Linked DNA regions of Homo sapiens: region 2 is linked to region 1. The links are contacts of gene promoters, found by promoter capture Hi-C in blood cells and fetal thymus (Javierre and others, 2016). All regions are on one chromosome and are shown on one strand. Each heading gives the region's core, a stretch centred on a gene start or on the middle of the fragment in contact. The rest is flanking DNA. Distances are from core to core; before and after follow the strand shown. Region 1 holds the start of UXS1 (UDP-glucuronate decarboxylase 1). Region 2 overlaps LIMS1 (LIM zinc finger domain containing 1).

Region 1 (6,112 bases), core at 1,041-3,540:
CACATCCCAGACCAACTGAATCAGAAACTTGAGGTGGGAGACAAGCAGTCTGTGTTTTTTAAAAAAAACCCTACTGATTCTGATGCATGCTTAAGTCTGAGAATCAACGTGCTACACTATGTGGTATAGGGTCTGTACCATCACAGCACAGACCAGTTAAGTTTTAGCACCCCATGGTGTCTCCTAGTGCCAAATTCAGGGACAACAGTAAGGACTTGGTAAGATTTCCTGGTCAGATGAATGATTGGTTAAAAAACTTTCCTGCTGGGAGCGGTGGCTTACGCCTGTAATCCCAGCACTTTGGGAGGCCGAGGCAGGCGGATCACGAGGTCAGGAGATCGAGACCATCCTGGCTAACATGGTGAAACCCCGTCTCTACTAAAAATACAAAAAATTAGCCGGGCGTGGTGGCGGGTGCCTGTAGTCCCAGTTACTTGGGAGGCTGAGGCAGGAGAATGGCGTGAACCCGGGAGGTGGAGCGTGCAGTGAGCCGAGATCGCGCCCCTGCACTCCAGCCTGGGCTGAACAGAGCGAGACTCCGTCTCAAAAAAAAAAAAAAAACTTCCCATGGCTCCATAAATCCCCTACTTTATTAATTCTAAACCCTTGCAGCGACTATAGAATACCCCCAAAATAAACATTGAAACTGCTGTTCGAAGACCTGGGTTCTAGCTCCTGCTCCCAGGCCTTTCTGGGTTCAAATTTTGGCCCTCCTTCTCTTACTATCTGTGTGATCATCCATAAATTTCCTAATCTCTCTTGGCCTTAACTTCCTCACCTCTAAAATAGGAATCATTATAGTACCGATTTCCCAGGGTTGCTCAATGATTGAGACAATGGCACTAAGAATCATGACTCACACAGTTAAGCACTCAACAAATGTAGGTAGTATTACTGCCATAATAATAGTTATTCAACTTTAAATGGTCTTTCCTCTTGGGTCTCAGCTTTCTTACTCAAGATTGACCACACACACACTTTAGACTAGTTCTTCCTCCCTTGCAAAACTACACACATCTAACACCCATCCGACGCCTGAAACCTCCCCTAGCAACCCGGAGTCCTGCTGGGGTTTTCCAGCTCCACCTCCTGAACAGCTGGGCTGTAGCACACAGGCTGGATCTACTCATACTTGCCTTCCTAGAGCTCAACTGAAGTCACTTCAGACAAGTGAAGTACCCACTCACCTCTGGAATCAGATCTTGGTAACGCCAACAGGTTAGCAGGTGATTTCATTTCAGTGTGTGTCTGGGTGGCTAGCATTCAAACGCAGCTCACACTGGGAGCTATTTCTAGTCCAATTTTGCTACTTGGTAACGTATTAATAGCATCAATTAAAACATTCCCAACGAATAGATCTTTAAAAGGACGGTTTCTGACTTCCCTAACAAGCAGAGGGCCGACCACCTGCCTGCGAAGTGCCCCTCCTGCCCTGTCTCCAGGCAGCATGCTGTGAGCGATGACAGAAACTGGACCCGCGCACAGAGAAGCTGCAGGCACGCCCTGCCCGGCCACCCAGCTGCCTGCCTGCTTCGCCCGGCCGCCGAGCCCCGGGGGAAAACCTAGAATGGGGATGCCGGTGCGCCCCGACACCTGGGCACGGCCGCGGGCCGGGGAGCCGCCCACACTTGGCTCCCCAAGAGTTAAACGCTGAGTAATTTTCCTGAGGAGCAAACAGTCGGAGCGGGGGCTCTGCCAATGGCCACAGTATTTTTATCCGACTTAACCGACACCGCGGCGCGACCTCGGCTGTCCCCAAGGGTATCCCCACGCGGCACGCTCCGGAGTCCCCGACCGGGACCCTCGCCGGCTCCCAGCGCGACATGGACGACAGCGCCGCCGCCGAGTCCCCCGCGCCCGGGCAGGAGGCAGAGACCTGGGGCCGCCCGAGGACTGCTAGGGGCCCCTCCGCCCGGGGTCCGCGCCCGGGCCTAAGCGGTAGGGGGTGTGCGCCCAAGTTGGCCCGCTTTGCTGCAAGAGTGGAAAGGGGTGGGAGCAGAAAGCGCCGGCCCCGCCCGGGGCGGGGAGCAACGCGGGGCTGCAGGGCCGCCTCGGGGCCCCGAACCACCGCCGCCCGGCCCACCGCGGCGCCGGGGAATGAATGGGGCTCCCCAGCTGGCAGCGGGCGCGCACTCACAGGCGACGTAGGCCAGCAAGGCGATGCCCAGCAGCAGCTTCATCCTCCTGCGGTTGACGGCAGACACGAGGCGCAGCAGCGCCTTGCTCACCATCCCCGGGAGCCGCGCGGGTCCAGGGCCCTACCGCGCGGGGGCCCGCCTGCTGCACAATGCGCGGCGGCGGCGGCGGCAGCGGCCCCGAGAGCCCCGCCTCCTGCCGCCGCGCGCCCCCGCCCCCGCGCGCCTGCTTCCTGCTGGCGGGATCACCGCGCAGGCGCGCCTCCACCCCCTTCCTCCGGCTCCGCCCCCGCCCCTCCGGCTTCTCTACCCGCAGGCGCAGTTGCCGCCTTTCTTGCCTTGGTTTTCGAAGAATGTGACCTGGAGGGCTGGTGGGCGGTGCGGCGCGCCGCGGCGCATGCGCGTTCCGGTCTGTTTTCCCTGAGTTAAAGCGCGCGGGTGCCAGCCGGGAGGTGCGGCTGGATTCGTTTCGCTGAGGTGCGTCCCCAACCCAAGGGCACGACTGCAGTGGCCAGTTTCCGAGCCCCGCCCGGAGGGGGGCACGCGGTGGGCATTCCGGTGTTGCAGTGAAACGAAACTTATTTGCTAAACTTGGCCGAGCCTTAGAAGTTGAATGCCTGCCTCAGAAAGTTGCCTCGTTCTCTGGGCTGTTTAGTTGGCTTTTTTTAGTTAGAATATCGGCAGCGAAAATGATAAATCCCCTAAACCTTGCCGAAGTAAAAACTGGCTGCGTTTTTTTTCCTTGGCTATGATCAACTGGGGTGCCTTTGTTTTAATAATAGTCTTTTATTATTATTTTAAAAAGCAGTGCTAAGTATATTAATTTAGGATAGACTTGGAAAAGAAAAGATGAAATTGCGCTGTCTCTGCCTAGAGAAAAACCCTGACCATGTTGTCGTGTGTGTTTCATTCAATCTTTTTGTTGAGTATATCTGTTTTATGAGTGCTGTACTGATTGCATAGGAGGTACCTGTGTTTAAAAAGCATTTACTGAATGATGATTACAAGCAAGGAGATGTATCAGAAGATCCACAGATAATCGGAAGCTTGTCATTGGATCTGGAGAGAGCTGGTCCCATGGAGGAAAAAAAGACAGGTACACACAGATGTGTGTGATGCCACATTAAGAGAGATCCCGGATTTGGGATCTGCAGGCTTCAAGAGGTCATCTTCAGCTATACGGAGAAGTTGAAGTCAGCAGCGGCTCTCCTACCTCTTGGAACCTCAGGCCATTTTGCAAAACTTAATAGATCACCCTCCTTTAGATTTATTAGAAACCTCCAAGAAAAGGAAATATGGCAGCTGGTACTAAAGCAGCAGCTTTATGTTACATCTTTCAAACTATAGTGCAAATGATGTGATTCTGATAAAACCTACCTCCATCCTACCCCTCCCCTAAACCTGTTGAGAATCCCTGACTAGGAGGAAACACTGAGCGGTTTGCTAAGGCGGATTGCCCCTGCTATGCATGCTGCCCATAGATGGAGTGGACTTCTTTCGAGAAGCCCAGCTCCCTGACTCTGACGTGTCCAAGGAGGCTGCCAAGTGACAAAACACCTGGCATGGGAGCCTGAGTCCTGGGTTCCCAGAGGGGCCAGGCCCCCAGAGCACACCAGTTTGGAACAAATCGATTTTGTTTGTAAGTCTGCATTTCCTCGTGGCTTTCTGGCTATGGTTTTTGAAAAGAGAACTAGAGCAAGTGGAGCTCTAGGCCTTTCCCATTCCATGACTCCGTGGTTTTTAGATTAAAGATGAGGAGCAGAAATGGAAGAAAATAATAGTTCATTAACATTTGACCTATGGGCAAAATCAGACTGAAGCTTCTAGGCGGATTTCAAGCATTTTAGGTTTTAGGTAGGGTTTAGTTGATAGGTATCCTATTAGACGACAAAGGTCAGAAATTGTGGGGTATTTGCCATTTCTGTACTAAACTCCTTAAGCCCAGCATTCCCAGTTAGCATTTTTTTCTGCTGCTGGACACTACTGCCAACTTCTGCCCTGTGGGATTAAGTATATGGAAATACCGTTAGCAGCTGCAGTTGAAATAGCTGCTGCTGTCATTATTGCCACCCAGAAGGCGGTTGGTGTCCCAGGACACTGGTGTCTTGCTCAGCCGCAGCCAGAATTAAAAAGTAAGCAATAGTAAGTGTGCACCCAGTGGAGGTAAGAAGGCCTGAGGGAGGGAGATGCCAAAGAGACCCTCCAAGCTCCTCCGGGGATCTTGGGCGTAGGCAGCACCATTTCCCTGTGCTCCTTGCCTCTCTTGTTTCTTCCCAGACCCCCTTGTTTCTTCCCAGCCCATCCCCACTTCCCCCGCAGGTTCTGGGCTCATCCCTCCCTGCTCCCTCCCCTTACTGTCAACCCCCTCATATTTCCAGTGGATAGGTTAACAACAATATTTTTGAGCGATTACATATTTTTGAACAAGTTACAAAGGTAGTGTTTTTGACACTCAGGGTAATTAAAAAATGAATTGTAATATGACTTCTAAAGTGTTTAAAGCCTAAGGAGTGGAGAAAATTAACATTTATAAACCTCTACAATGTGCCAGGGACTGTTATGCAATGCACTTTCATTGTTACCTCATTGATATGGTTTGGCTCTATGTCCCCACCCAAATTGTAATCCCCACATGTCAAGGGAAGGACCTGATGAGAGGTGATTGGATCATGGAGGTGGTTTTCCCTATGCTGTTCTCATGATGGTAAGGGAGTTCTCATGACAGCCAATGGCATTTTTTTTTTTGAGACGGGGTCTCACTCTGTTGCCCAGGCTGGAGTGCAATGGCACAATCTCAGCTTACTGCAACCTCTGCCTCCCGGGTTCAAGTGATCATCCTGCCTCAGCCTCCCAAGTAGCTGGGATTACAGGCGCCCGCCACCACGCCTGGCTAATTTTTGTATTTTTAGTAGAGATGGGGTTTCACCATGTTGGTCAGGCTGGTCTTGAACTCCTGACCTCAGGTAATCCACCCGCCTTGGCCTCCCAATGTGCTGGGATTACAGGTGTGAGCCACCACACCCGGCCGGTTTTAAAAGTGTTTGGAAGTTTCTCCTTCACGGCATTTCTCTCCTCTCCCCTGCCGCCATATGAGGAAGGTCCTTGCTTCCCCTTCACCCTCTGCCATGATTGTAAGTTTCCTGAGGCCTCCCCAGCCATGCGGAACTGTGAGTCCATTAAACCTCTTTCCTTTATAAATTAGCTAGTCTCCAGCAGTTCTTTATAGCAGTGTGAAAACTACTAACACACTCATTTAATTCTTGCAACAGCCCTGTGGGGCAGGGTTGCCATTGTTGCTGCTCTTTAAAAAAAAAAAAAAAAAAAAAAATTTTAAATTAATTTTTAAATCAACAAAAATTGTATATATTTATGATGTATCATATGAGGTTTTAATATATGTATAGATGGTGGAATAGCTAAAACTAGTTTGCTTCCACCTTTTGGGTATTGTGAATAATGCTGCTGTGAACACAGGTGTACAAATATCTCTTTAAGACCCCACTTTCAGTTCTTTTGGGTACATTACCCAGAAGTGGAATTTTTGGCTCATAAGGTAGTTGTGTGTTTAATTTTTTTGGGAACTTCTATACGGTCTTCCTTAAGGGCTGTACTGATTTACATTGCTGCTGTCATTAATAGATGAGGAAACTGAGGCTCTGAACATTTGATAAGTGTCCCAACACTTGGTAGGTGGCAGGGTTACCAGTTACTTGGCTTGGTAAGTAACAGGGTTACCAGTCACAGAGCTGGGAGTGTAGGGCTGGAATTTTAAGCCATGATTTTCCCTGTGTGAGGATGCTTTTCTGGAGTTGAGTGCAGACTTGCACAGAAATGACTATCACTCATAGCAAAATGTGGTGAGTGGTCACTGTGGGACAGGGTCGCATGAATGGCTAAGGAATTTCACAACAGGAAGGTATGCTTCCAGGTCATGGACTGTGGTTTGCCATGCCGGGACCAGCTGACAGGCTCACAAG
Region 2 (5,922 bases), core at 2,278-4,777, 2.4 Mb after region 1:
TTATCAGGCAGTGCTAGATCTTATTGCACAAAATGGTATTTGGGGCCAAATGAATGGTAAGCGAGCCAAAGAGAAGCCTCTCTGCCTCCTCAGCTTTGAAAATGTAAGAGGGAATGCAGATACTGCTATAGAATCAACATGTGAGTAGTGGCACTTCAGCAACTTCTACAGAGCTGTACATGAGTGCCTGGGATTGTGGCCTCAGAGAACTGGAATACTGGCTCAGGCTACTTAAATGTAGATGAAAATATTAAACCAAAAGGAAGGTAAATTGACCTTGAAAAGTCTGTTTATATAAGCAGTTTACTTACAGGCAATCTGTACCTGCATAGCAAGTGTACACATTGATTTCTGAATGAGAAAGCACTGACATTGCCTTATGAGCCATTATGATATTGTTCTTCTGATTATGTTTGTGCTCAGGTTAATAAAGTGTACCAGGTGACTCCCTTGTCCCCTTCCCCCTCCACTCCAGGAAGCATCCGTGTATCCCCTGCTCTGCTCTGAAATAGAACATTTAATGTTCATCATGACGGCAGTGGAAGATTTGGTTTTGCCTTTTGAATTATTCCTGCTCTTCTGTCCCTTTGTTTTTGCCAGCATCTTAATTCTTACTAATTGATTTGGTGAGGTTATTTTTATGTATTCTTTTAACACAGAATTATTTTTTGTGTTTCAGAGCAGTTTTATTTCAAAGGATAAAACTGTCTCTTGAAATAGTCATGTGGTGCTTTGTCTGTAATAGGTTAGAATATTGCCATCCATAGAAGAGTAAAAATGACTGCTGCTTTTAAATAGGCTTAAATTATTGACTTTTTATACAACCAGCATAGGCGCTGTCATTAGAGCGTCAGACCTCTTATATTCAGTCTGAACATAGTCCAAATAGTCACCATATTTATTAGTTTATTTGAACCACTCTCAATTTCACCATTTGATTTGCTTTCCTAATAGGTTCTAAACTCTTTGAAGCTCAGTTATTTTGTTCTGTTTTCTCAGCCTATGAATTTGGCCTCTTGCCAAGTTAGTTTTGATTACATTTTTGCTTTTTCATTTATGAGCTGCCATAAAAGAGATTGTTCTGTCTTATGCTTTACTAATAGTTGGTTAAAGGTTTGACTTAAAAGACTTGGTTGGCCCAGAGTCATACAAGTGCATGTTTGCCATTCTGAACTGAAATCCCTGGCGACAGTGCTGTTTATAAAAGGATTAGAGCAGGGAGTTTTGTTGCCCTAAAATCAGGAAAATTAAGTTTTATTTTATATTATTTAAGTAATTAAATGATAAGAAATTTACACACAGGTGTGTGTGTGTGTCCATCCTTGTGCCTCAATTGCAAAATTTCCTGAAATAATCTCCCTGAGCTCCATCGTGGTGTTTCTCCCACCAAGCTTTTCTTGTGATTCTGTCTTGCACACCACCGTTCTTTAGAAGTAGTATTTCTTGGAGGTTTGTGTTTGAGATGGGGACTGGATGCTGGCTGTAGCCTCTTTGTGGCTCCAAAGGAAAGAGGAGGGAGGATTGTCCTCAAAGACTCTTACAAGGGTAGAGAGGGAGGAAGCAGGCTGGGCAAAGCTCAAGGAAGTCCATGCAATAACTGACCTGTGTCAGGTTGGGGTCTCCTTCTAGCAGGATGTCTGTAGGGGGAGGGAAGAAGGACTGCAGGGCTCTCTGGTGTGCCAGCTGCCAGCTCTCATGCAGCACTCAGTTTTCAGTGACTCTCATGTTAATTCAGCATGCCAGCTGTTCAATTTAATGTCTATACCAATGGGGAATGGGAGAGAGGTAGATAATGAGGAAAGAGAAGAAATAATGAGGTAATATGTCATCTCCTAAAAGCTCATTTTGTAACAGAAATTGTCCAGACTGTTACTGCATTACATTTTAGGTTTTTCTCAATCCCCTCAGAAAACAAAGAAGCTCATACAGAACATTGCCCCTACCACTAGCAAGAGGCAAATCTTTCAGCCCTCCCAAGGCTGGCTTTCAGGCTCCTGAAGCTGTGCCTTCTGAATGTGACACCTTGTCCTGGCGACATCTCTGGAGAGACGCCACACACATCAGTGTTAAGTGGTACACATGGTCCTTTTCACCACAAATGTCCTGAAATCGAGGGACTATTTAGAAAACAGGCGGCTGCTTCATTCTATTGTGGGAGTGATGTGACAGGAAGGGAGGCTCAGGAATGACCATGACAGGAAAGCATGTGGAGCACTCACAGTAAAGCTTCACAGAAGCCCTCACGGCCAGGCGCAGCAGAGCACAGCGACTGCCCAAGGAGCTGCTGTCCTAGCCACCCTCCCAGTCATCTTCAAGAAGAACAAAAGTTCACTGATCGCCTCAGTTCCTTTATTCTCCTCTTGTTCTTGAGGACTGACCAATGGGTGTGTGTCCCTGTTTGCCTCTTTGCTGGGGTCACAGAGGAACCCAGGAGCTCACATTGAGTGGCCCCCAGACATGTCACTGGGGCCAGAAAGTGCCATGAGGATGGGGGTCTACACTGGGGTGTGGGGTGGCCATATCTTCTGGCCCTGACTTGAACAATGAGTCCATGTGTGGCCTCTAGTTTACATAAATAAAGAATGGCTGTGGCTGGGCGCGGTGACTCACGCCTGTAACCCCAGCACTTTGGGAGGCCCAGGCGGGTGGATCACCTGAGGTCAGGAGTTCGAGACCAGCCTAGCCAACATGGTGAAACCCCATCTCTAAAAATACAAAAATTAGCTGGGTGTGGTGGCAGGTGCCTGTAATCCCAGCTACTCAGGGGGCCAAAGCAGGAGAATCGCTTGAACTCGGAAGGCAGAAGTGGCAGTGAGCTGAGATTGCACCATCACACTCCAGCCTGGGGGGAAAGAGCAAGACTTCATCTCTAAAAAAAAAAAAAAAAAAAAAGAATGGTTGTAATCCCAGCACTTCAGGAGGCCAAGGCGGGTGGAATTCAAGACCAGCCTGGTCAAGATGGTGAAACCCCGTCTCTACTAAAAATACAAAAATTAGTCAGGCGTGGTGGTGGGTGCCTGTAATCCCAGCTACTTGGGAGGCTGAGGCAGAGAATTGCTTGAACCCAGGAGGGGGAGGTTTCGGTGAACTGAGACCGCACCACTACACTCCAGCCTGGGTGACAGAGCAAGACTCCATCTCAAAAAAAAGAATGAGGTAGACAGACTTGGACTCCCGTTTAACTGACAGGTTTATTATTCTGTACCTTTACGTGATAACACACTCCTCCCCCCCGTCTGTTCCTAGTTTTGAATGTAAATACAGTTGTTTAAATCGTCTGTTCCTAGTTTTGAATGTAAATACAATTGTTTAAATTCCTAAGTGACATCTTGGAGAAAGAGCCCAAAAGGTCTAAGTACCATCAGCTGCAGAGTCCTCACATAGGCTGCCTCTGTCGGCCTGGGTCCAACCAGGAGAGAAAACCCACACGCTAATTTGAACAGGAAAGGTTTAATATAAAGATAGAATTACTAACTCTAACAAGGTTTTGGAGTAATAAGGAATTGGCTAGTAAGAGGAGAGAAAGCAAAAGAGTATAGGAATAGCCGCTGTAAGGAGCAGCCACGGACCCTAGAGCTGAGTTAGAGTGCCAAGGGAGGAGCCCTACTCCGTGCCCGGGGTCACACTACCAGGGCATGCTGCATGCAGAAAAGTCGCTGGCACAGATTGCTGGAAATCCTCCTTTCCAATACCAGAGAAGGCTGTTCCCAGTGAGTTCCCTCACCCAAGGTACCCCCTACATAGCTGACTGCCAAGGGATGGGTGCTGCTGGCTGCATGCACCATCAGGGTCCAAGGCACTCTGCTGTAAAACTTTTGAGGGGCCAGTGCCACTGAAGCTGGTGCTAGCCACCATGCCCTGCAGGAGCTAGACACCGAAGAAGCCAGAGTGCTGCAGGAGCTTTGCCCAGGGAGCAGGCAGGACTGGGAAGCAAACCTCTTCCTCCTGCAGTGTCTCTCCAGCACCCTCTACTGACAAGGTCTCAGTGCTGCTCATAGAGGACAAAGATTCACAGAGGTAGCAGTAACTGCATCACCAGCACCTAGCAATATCCCAGTGATGCCTCCTACAGGACACAAGGGGGTCTGTCTAAGTGGGTAATTGCCATATTTTTATATATTATTGCTAGATGTATAGAATACCACTTTTTGAGAAGAGGTAAGGAATGGAATAAAGAGCTTCCTACTTAGCCCTGTGAACTGCTTTCAAAAACCATAGCTTCATTCCGTGACAGAGAATGGAGAGCTCTGTGTGGGGAGAGAGGAAGGTTGAGCACAGGAGCCTGCAGAACAAGAGGAGTGACTGAGGCCCCTGGGAGATGCTGCTAGCCTGGTTGTAGCTGGGCAGTGTTACATGAGCACCAGCTTACAGTGGTTGACCTCCTGACCTTATACTATTTCCACATCTTTTTTCATTGTACTTATGGCAAAATCTAAGTTATGGTAGCTGAAATAATCCCTTGCCTTTCTGTGTACATTTCACAAAATTTAAAGTTAATGAAAGAAAAGAAACCTTTTTAAATTCAGCAAAATATACATATATGTGTGTGTGTGTGTGTGTGTGTGTGTGTGTGTGTGTGTGTGTGTGTATTTTAGTTCCTCTGCTTCATCCTGGTCAGTATTTTCAAATGCTGTTTAATGCAGTAAAATCTACACAAAACATGTTCTGTGTCAAAAAGAAAATAACGGGCAGTGAAAGATATGTACATTTGAATTTGAAAAGGTTCATTGTTTTCACTTGACTCAAGTGAAATGTTTTTTATTCTGTTCTATTCTGAAATTCTCATGGTTTTCTTTTACCTTATCATTGAGGGAAGTAAACCCCGTGTTAAGCTTAGTCACAAAATAAAAACTCCCACGGACTTCCCTCCCAGTGTAGCTGAAGGTTAATGTCCAGGGAGATAGCCTTGACTGAGTCAGAACTAAAATAAGGGTGTTATTTAGAGCCAGATACTCTGGTGCTACAGCCACTACAGCCGTGTCAAGAGCTCCTGACACACTGGAGGCTGTCACTGGTGATCTGGGCGTTCTCCTAAGTCAGCATTCCTAGCTAAAAATACTGCCATTCTGTATTGGAAACACAGCTTCCTCTAATTTGTCTGTTTTGACCAGAACACAATGTTATCTTTTTAAAAAGCTGTTTAGGTGTGAGAATGTATGTTAATGGATCACAATACGAATAAAAATAAAAGAATGAAAAGATAAGTGATTTGAAATATAAAGGAACTAGTACAGAGACATTTTCTAGTTAAAGTTTCTAAATGGTCAGAGAAAAATCACCTAACCTATGAGAGAAAATTTTAAGATTTTTTTTTTTTTTTTGAGACAGTATCTCGCTGTGTCTCCCAGGCCGGAATGCAGTGGCATGATCACAGCTCAGTCATAGCTCACAGGCTCAAGCGATCCTCCTACCTCAGCCTCCTTAGTAGCGCCTACAGGTGCATGCCACCGTGCCCGGCTAATTTTTCTATAGAGATGGTGTGTCACCACGTTGCCCAGGCTGGTCTCCAGCTCCTGAGCTCAAGTGATCCTCCTGCCTCAGCCTCCCAAAGTGCTGGGATTACAGGCATGAGGCACCATGCCCAGCCCAAGAATGTTTTTAAATTGACTAAACACTGCTTATTTGAGGGACCATGGGAGAAAAAAAAATTGTGAGGTGGCTTATAGATTTCAAACTATAGTGATTCTGATTGATCGAGCTGTCTTTCTTGAGGAAAGTTACGCCAAAGGCAACGAGCTAGACTGAGCTGTCTGGGTGTCTGGGTAGGGACGCAGCTCACCAGGGCTTGCCCTCTTTAGATGCCCTCTGCAGGCAGTCTAGGGACTTCTCTCAAGATGTCCAGTTTGATTAATTGCATGATGACAGTGTGCTTGGTGCCATGAGGGGTATAAAGATTCAACAGAGGCTGGGCGTGGTGGTTCA

Evidence for each region. Contacts are between HindIII fragments. The CHiCAGO score rates a contact against its expected background, and 5 or more counts as called.
Region 2: a fragment that was not itself captured here is called in contact with the fragment with the promoter of UXS1 in region 1 in 1 of 17 cell types (M2 macrophages); the score reaches 5.7 in M2 macrophages.

Annotation. Positions count from the first base shown.
Region 1 is chr2:106,192,011-106,198,122 of GRCh38, forward strand. UXS1 (UDP-glucuronate decarboxylase 1) reads right to left here and starts at 2,291. Exons shown (of 15, transcript NM_001253875.2): 1 at 2,138-2,291. The coding sequence starts at 2,231. RefSeq lists an enhancer at 1,384-1,433 and a silencer at 1,764-2,373. The HindIII fragment of the contact is 11,333 bases long and covers 1-3,179 here.
Region 2 is chr2:108,632,559-108,638,480 of GRCh38, forward strand. All of the region lies in intron 1 of LIMS1 (LIM zinc finger domain containing 1), which reads left to right. Among named protein-coding and RNA genes, the nearest start is that of LIMS1-AS1, 43 kb to the right of the region's middle. RefSeq lists an enhancer at 3,723-4,297. The HindIII fragment of the contact is 2,606 bases long and covers 2,225-4,830 here.